Linked DNA regions of Homo sapiens: region 2 is linked to region 1. The links are contacts of gene promoters, found by promoter capture Hi-C in human tissues and cell types (Jung and others, 2019). All regions are on one chromosome and are shown on one strand. Each heading gives the region's core, a stretch centred on a gene start or on the middle of the fragment in contact. The rest is flanking DNA. Distances are from core to core; before and after follow the strand shown.

What was found. Contacts are between HindIII fragments. The study calls those that stand out against the background at their distance.
Region 2: a fragment that was not itself captured here is called in contact with the fragment with the promoter of ASCC2 in region 1 in 2 of the 25 tissues and cell types used here (spleen and thymus).

The regions. Positions count from the first base shown.
Region 1 is chr22:29,837,024-29,841,103 of GRCh38, forward strand. It overlaps ASCC2 (activating signal cointegrator 1 complex subunit 2), which reads right to left and starts at 1,251. Exons shown (of 20, transcript NM_032204.5): 1 at 1,155-1,251. RefSeq lists an enhancer at 1,524-1,583. The HindIII fragment of the contact is 14,310 bases long and covers 1-4,080 here.
Region 2 is chr22:29,893,107-29,896,744 of GRCh38, forward strand. The region is part of intron 1 of MTMR3 (myotubularin related protein 3); the gene reads left to right. Among named protein-coding and RNA genes, the nearest start is that of MTMR3, 12 kb to the left of the region's middle. The HindIII fragment of the contact is 5,497 bases long and covers 1-3,638 here.

The DNA.
Region 1 (4,080 bases), core at 1-2,500:
AGCTATGTAGATAAGGCTCATGAAGCTGTGGCAGCATTTAAAAGAGAGACCTGGCTTGAGGAAGAAGTGATGTCAAGGAAGACCTGAGTTTTTGTCTAAAGCACGGGTACAAATTAAGTAGGCAGGGCTGGGCGCGATGGCTCACGCCTGTAATCCCAGCGCTTTGGGAGGCCAAGGCGGGCGGATCACGAGGCCAGGAGATCGAGACCATCCTGGCTAGCAAGGTGAAACCCCGTCTCTACCGAAAAAAAAAAAAAAAATTAGCAGGGCGTGGTGGTGCATGCCTGTAATCCTAGCTACTCAGGAGGCTGAGGCAGGAGAATCGCTTGAACCCGGGAGGCGGAGGTTGCAGTGGGACGAGATCACGCCACTGCACTCCAGCCTGGGCGACAGAGCAAGACCCCGTCTTGGGGGGAAAAAATAAATTAACTGGACAATCTGAACTTTGAGCTCCAAAAGGACAAACAATAATCATGACTATGTCTGTGCCCACCACTGTATTCCCCTGCCAGGCAGGACAGCAAAAGCCAAAAGCTAAGAAAGGGAGGGGGAGCTCCCTACAAGCACCCAATTGCAATATGGCCTGGGAGCATCCCCGGGGCTACTGCTCCCTCAGCCTCTTTGTCATCATTCCTCTAGTCTCTCAATTAAATACTACTCTCCTCAGAGACCTTCTGATGGCTCTGCCTATAGTATCCACTCTCCCAGTTACTGTCATAGCTTTAATGACCTTGTGCATTTGCTTGTCGTTGACCATCTCCTCCCACTAGACTGTAAGCTCCATGAGGGCAGAAGCCTTGTCTGTCTTGCTTTCTTTGTATCCCCAATGTCTAGATCTGTGTCTGGCACATAGGAAGCACTCCACAAATATTTGCTGAACGAATGAATGAACCCTGAGGAAACTGAAGCCCCGGGTGTGAGGACGTGGGGGGATCGTGGCTGGTCCAACGCCACTCTGGGGCCGAACTTCGAACCCGTGGCTCCTGACCCTGGCGGCCAAGTCTCGAGAGGCGGCTCACAACCCCTCAGGTAGCGTAAGCGTGGGCCCCGCAATGGAGGCCAGAGGATGGGAGAGCCAAGGCTGCCCAAGGCATAGCCGCGGCTCCTCCGGGGTCCCTTGCCCTGCATCTGGCAGGGACCAGCCACGCACTCACCTCGGCGGCTCCACCACCGGCTCTGTGCCGCCGCCGCCGCCGCCGCCGCCGACCACGGTGACAGCTCCCTGAGCGCCCGCACTTCCGGGGTCAAACTGCGATTCCGCAGGAGCAGACAGGAAGTCTCGGCCTGGCCCCGCCCCCAGAGCCGAGCAAACTACCGCCGGGAAGCCGGACCCGGGTTGCGCCTCTCTTCTTAAGACTCCGCCCCACACTCGGCGTCTGTAGCCACGCCCCCTTCCCCTCCTATCTCCCTTCCTGCTTAAGCAGAGAATAGGTCAGCTGAGGGCGGGCTGTGTGATTACACCTCTCGGGAAATCCAAGTATGGCACCTGAGAGGACGTCTCGGAATCCCAGGCTTCCACCTTCTGCCCGACCTCCTTAGTCACCGTTTTACATATTTAATCCAGAAGAGAAATTTTAACAAGTCAAAAGCACGAACATAATGTTAAGCAGATGTACAAGTACAGACTGCGATTTCATTTACGGGAAATTCTAGAACAGACAGAACTCATGAGTAGTGATGGTGTTAAAATTGGTGGTTTCCTCTGGGGCTGTGGGCTGGGAGGGGCCACAAGTGAGGCTGGGGTCACCCCCTGTCTTCATCTCGGTGGTAGCCATGTAGATGTGTTCACTTTGGAAAATTCATCAAATTGTACGCTTAAGATTTGTGCATTTTTCTGTATGTATGCAATACAGTTTTGTTCTGTTTTGTTTAAGGAAGTTACAAGTATAGCTATCCTAAGAGAAGGATGCAATTTTTTCTACAGAATGTCTCAGGTAATGTAGGTTTAGTGGTTCCTAAGCCTGACTATGGATCAGAATCATCACAGAAAACTTGTTAAGAACACACATTCCTGGCTTCATCTCAGTGCCTGGTACACAGTAAGAATTCAAAACCAACCACCATCATTATTGGGGTGTTATAGAAGCCCCCGAATGGAGAACACAACCCCACCCTGGGATTGTGAAATATTTCCCAGGACACTCCTGCCAACCCCTGCTATCTGCACTAGGGCTACAAGGAATGCTTAGTTCAGTGCCTGTCTTCAAGGGGCTTACAGGATAGGAAGTGCAAGAAAACCAATAGCAATGAGTCAGTGTGATGAATGCAGGGTGCTAAGGAAATAGGAGAGATGGGCTGTAAACCAGAAATGAGATGAGAGGGGCTGGATATTATATTAGTTTTGTATTGCTGCATAACATATTACCACAAACTTATAACAACACACTGCTTGCCACTTATAACAAACACATTTATTTATTTATTTATTTTGAGACAGAGTCTCACTCTGTCACCAGGCTGGAGTGCAGTGGTGTGATCTTGGCTCACTGTAACCTCTGCCTCCCGGAGGTTACAGTGGGTTCAAGCGATTCTCCTGCCTCAGCCTCCCAAGTAGGCAGGACTACAGGCATGAGCCACCAGGCCCAGCTAATTTTTGTATTTTTAGTAGAGACGGAGTTTCACCATGTTGGCCAGGATGGTCTCGATCTCTTGACGTCGTGATCCGCCTGCCTCAGCCTTCCAAAGTGCTGGGGTTACAGGCGTGAGCCACCACACCTGGCCAACAAACATATTTATTATCTCACATTTTCTGTGGGCCAGGAATCTGAGGATGGCATAGCTGGCTCCTCTGCATCAGGGTCACCCACAAGACTGCAATCAAGATATCGGCCAGGGCTGGAGTCTCATTTAAAGGCTCAACTCAAAAAGGATCTGCTTCCCATGTCTAGTGGCTAAATTCAGTTCCTTAATGGTTGTTGGACTAAGGGTCTCAGTTCCTAGCTGGATTTTGGCTAAAGGCTTGTCACGTAGGCTTCTCCAGTGTAGCAGCCTGCTTCATCAAAGCATGCAAGCCTAAAAGTTAATAGGGAAGCCAAGAGTGGTGGCACATGCTTATGGTTCCAGCAGGTTGGGAGGCTGAAGCAGGAGGATTGTTTGCGCCTAGGAGTTCAAATTGAGCCTGAGCAACATAGCAAGACCCAGTCTCTAAAAATTAAAAATAAATAAATAAATAAAAGAAGGCAATAGGGGCCGGGCACCGTGGCTCATGCCTATAATCCCAACACTTCGGGGGGCTAAGGTGGGAAGATTGCTTGAGCCCAGAAGTCTGAGGCCATCTTAGGCAACATAGCGAGACTTCGTCTCTACAAAAAAAAATTTAAAATTAGCCAGGCATGCTGGTGCATGCCTGTAGTCCCAGCTACTTAGGAGGTCGAGGCAGGAGAATTGCTTGAGCCCAGGAGTTCGAGGCTGCAGTTAGCTGTGATCACACCACTGCACTCCAGCCTGCACAACAGAGCAAGACCCTGTCTCAAACAAACAAAAGGAGGCAATAGGAGATTCTACTAAGAAGAGAGAAATTACAACCTCATGTAACCTAATCAAGAAAGTGACATCAGTTTTGCCATGTTCTATTTGTTAGTAGCAAGTCACAGGATTTGCCCACAGGGGATTACACAAGGGCATGAATACCAAAAGATGTGAATCAATGGAGGCCATTCTAGAGTCTGCCTGCCACAGATACTTGGAGGATGCATATCAACCCCAGGTCTGCAGCAGAGGAAGTAGAGGTGCAGAGAGATAAAGACAGTTGTGATAATAATGACCACATTTGTCAAACCCTTGCTTCATCCCAGGCACTGGAATAAGCATTTTACACATATTATCTCTTTGACTTTTTTTTTTTTTTAAATGAGATGGAGTCTCACTCTGTTACCCAGGCTGGAGTGCAGTGGCACGATCTTGGTTCACTGCAACCTCCGCCTCCCAGGTTCAAGCCATCCTCCTGCCTCAGCCTCCGTAGTAGCTGGGACTACAGGCATGCACTGGGCTAATTTTTGTATTTTTAGTAGAGATGGGGTTTTGCCATGTTGGGCAGGCTGGTCTCAAACTCCTGACCTCAGGTGATCTGCCCGTCTTGAT
Region 2 (3,638 bases), core at 756-3,255, 57 kb after region 1:
TGGACTATTTAAACTCCTGCATATTTATTTACACATGTAAATAAGTTATAGCATTGTAAAACCAACAGGTATATTTTCCGTAGTGAGATTGTTCCTTCATCTTATGTGCACAGAAAATATTTTCGTGGAAGAGGTCTTGAATTTTAGATCAACCTTTCACATATCCCTTTACTTTCTCTTAAGATACTTTCATGGTGACAAAAAAAATACTCTTAATGTCATTCCTTTCACTGTGTGTGTAACTCCTGTGGCAAGACTGTATATTTGTATGTATGTATTTGTTTATTTAGTAGGCTGCTATTTATAAAGGAAACATACTCATTAGTTGGTCTTTGCGTACATAATGGTTCCCAAAACATGGACTCCATGGTTTGCTGTGAGTGAATGAAAAAGAGCAGGTATGATTCCCCTCACCTTTGTCATTCTCTCCAGTTTCTTGTACATATGGTTGACTTACTCAGCAGTAAGTGTAACTTTACAATGAAGAAAATTAGTCTTCCAAAGAACTAGTATGCTACTTCCCGCTTGTTCTGCAGTATTTAAAATCCTGTTTGGTAAATGAACTAAGACACTTATATATAGAAGAGACCCTGGATGGCCATGAATGGAAATATTAGTAGTGATTAATTTCTGTCTTGGTGGGATAATGTGGCTTTTTTGCTTCTTATTCTTTTAGAGTTTCCCATTTTTCTACAACGAGCATGTATTACTTTTATACGTAGGAAAAACTGCTATTTTATTTTATTTTTTATTTTTTAAGACGGAGTCTCACTCTGTCACCCAGGCTGGAGTGCAGTGGCGTGATCTCAGCTCACTGCAACCTCCACCTCTTGGGTTCAAGCCATTCTCGTGTCTCAGCCTCCCAAGTAGCTGAGACTACAGGCAGAAGCCACCACAGCCAGCTGATTTTTTGTATTTTTTAGAGATGGGATTTCGCCATGTTGGCCAGGCTGGTCTTGAACTCCTGACCGCAGGTGACCCGCCCATCTTGACCTTCCAAAGTGCTGGGATTACAGGTGTGAGCCACCACGCTCAGCCAAAAACTGCTATTTTAAAGTCTTTATTTTTCACTGGATGTCTTCTGAAGGTTTATGTCGCACTCACCATTGAGAAAGTGGGTGGTTAACTGGCTCCAGTTCCTAAGAGGAGTGGCAGCGGTAGGAAGTAGTATGGGAGGAGTGGGGCAGGTAAGCTGATTTGAACTTTATCATTGTGAACTCCACTATGACTAAAGACATTCTGGGATTTGATCACAATTAAACCCAAGAGGACTGAGCCATCTAGTTTTTTTCTTCTTAATAAGCTGATTGAGAATTATAAAAGACACCTTAAGAAAAATCAGTTTCTATGCACTCTGTAAACACAGAACTCAGCCCGAACTCCCAAGTTCTGTATCCGTGTGTGTGTGTGTGTGTGTGTGTGTGTGTGTGTTGTGGTATGTTTTAAATATCAAATGGAGTTGTGGCAACTCAGATGGGATATGGTTTATATTAATACATCTAATATGAATTGGAAGATGCTTAGGCAAACGATTTTTATTATGACAGTATAGGCTTATTGGAGTTTTGGTGTTAATATACAGCTGGGAGTTGAGCCGTTCTAAGTTTATATAGCCATCTGGTGATATTTTAGGAAGAGCTGTGTCACATATCCTCTAGAGTTTAAGTGATTAGAGCTTGTTGGCTTTTGCTGTTAGTTTACTGCACACTTGTAGTGTTTTAAATGCTTCTGTGAATGGATAACATAATTCAAAAAGGTTAGATTTCTGGGTTAAGACATTTGTTATTATCGGCCCTTACTTTATTCTTTTAAAGAGTAAGATTAGGCTGGATGCAGTGGCTCGTGCCTATAATACCAGCACTTTGGGAGGCCAAGGTGGGCAGGTGAGGTCAGGAGTTTGAGACCAGCCTGGCTAACATGGCAAAACCCCATCTCTACTAAAAATACAAAAATTAACGGGGCGCGGTGGTGGGCATCTGTAATCCCAGCTACTCAGGAGGCTGAGGCAGGAGAATCACTTGAACCTGGGAGGTGGAGGTTGCAGTGAGCTGAGATCGTGCCACTGCACTCCAGCCTGGTTGACAGAGGGAGACTCCATCTCAAAAAAAAAAGTTGAAGAGCAGTTGAAATAATAAATGTAGGTACTGTTAGGTGGGTGCAAAATTAATTGTGGTTTTGGATTGTGAATTTTAAATCATTGTAACTAGGCCCAAACAGATCTTCATTTATCAAAATAGGAACTGTTACAATCAACACATTTTTACCGATGAGAAATAAGTTTGTTTATACCTGTAGTATAAAAATCCATGCTTTGAGATTCGATGAACTCTTGGAAAGCATTTTCTGCATCCTGCTGGTTGTGGAAGCATTTTCCCTGCAAAAAATTTTCTAGATGTTTGGAAAAGTGGTAGTCGGTTGGCGAGTGGTTAGTTGAATATGGTGGATGAGGCAAAACTTCGTAGCCCAATTCAACTTTTGAAATGTTGGTTGTGCAACGTGTTGTCGGGTGGTTGTGGAGAAGAATTGGACCCTTTCTGTGGACCAGTGCTGGCTGCAGGCATTGCAGTTTTCAGTGCATCTCATCGATTTGCTGAGCATACTTCTCAGATGTATTGGTTTTACTGGGATTCAGAAAGCTGTAGTGGATCAGACCAGGAGCAGACCGCCAAACAGTGACCATGACCACTTTTTGGTGCAAGTTCGGCTTTGGGAAGTGCTTTGGAGTGTCTTCTCGGTCCAGCCACTTAGCTGGTCATCACTGTTGTTGTATAAAATCCACTTTTTGTCGCACATCACAATCCAACCAAGAAATGGTTCGTCGTCGTTACGTAGAATAAGAGAAGACAACATTTCAAATCGACAATTTTTAAAATTTTCGGTCAGCTCATGAGGCACCCACTTATCAAGCTTTTTCACCTTTTGGCTGGGCGTGGTAGCCCACGCCTGTATTCCCAGCACTTTGGGAGGCGGAGGTGGGCAGATCACTTGAGGCCAGGAGTTCAAGACCAGCCTGGCCAACGTGGTGAAACCCCATGTCTACTAAAAATACAAAAATTAGTTGGGCATGGTGGCGGGCATGTGTAATCCCAGCAACTAGGGAGGCTGAGGCACGAGAATCGCTTGAACACAGGAAGTAGAGGTTGCAGTGAGCCCAGATCACACCACTGCACTCCAGCCTAGGTGATAGAGTGAGACTCCATCTCAAAAACAAACAAACAAAAAAAACTTTTTCACCTTTCCAGTTGGCTTCAATTGCCTGCCAAACAAGGGTAGAATGGTCGACATTGAGTTCTTCGGCAATTTCTCGTGTAGTTGTAAGAGGATCAGCTTCGATGATTGCTCTCAGTTGGTCATTGCCAACTTCTGGCCGGCCACTACACTCCTCATCTTCAAGGCTCTCGTCTCCTTTGCAACACTTCTTGAACCACCACTGCACAGTTTCTGGGCCAGATGTGTAGTTGATGTTGTGAGTTGTCTCCACTGCTTCACGACCCATTTTGAACTCAAGAAAATCACTTGAATTTGCTTTTTGTCTAACATAATTTCCATAGTCTAAAAAAAAAGCAAAAAATACGTTATTAGCAAGAAAAGGCAAGAAATGTGCATTAAAATGATGTATAACATAACCATTTATTTAA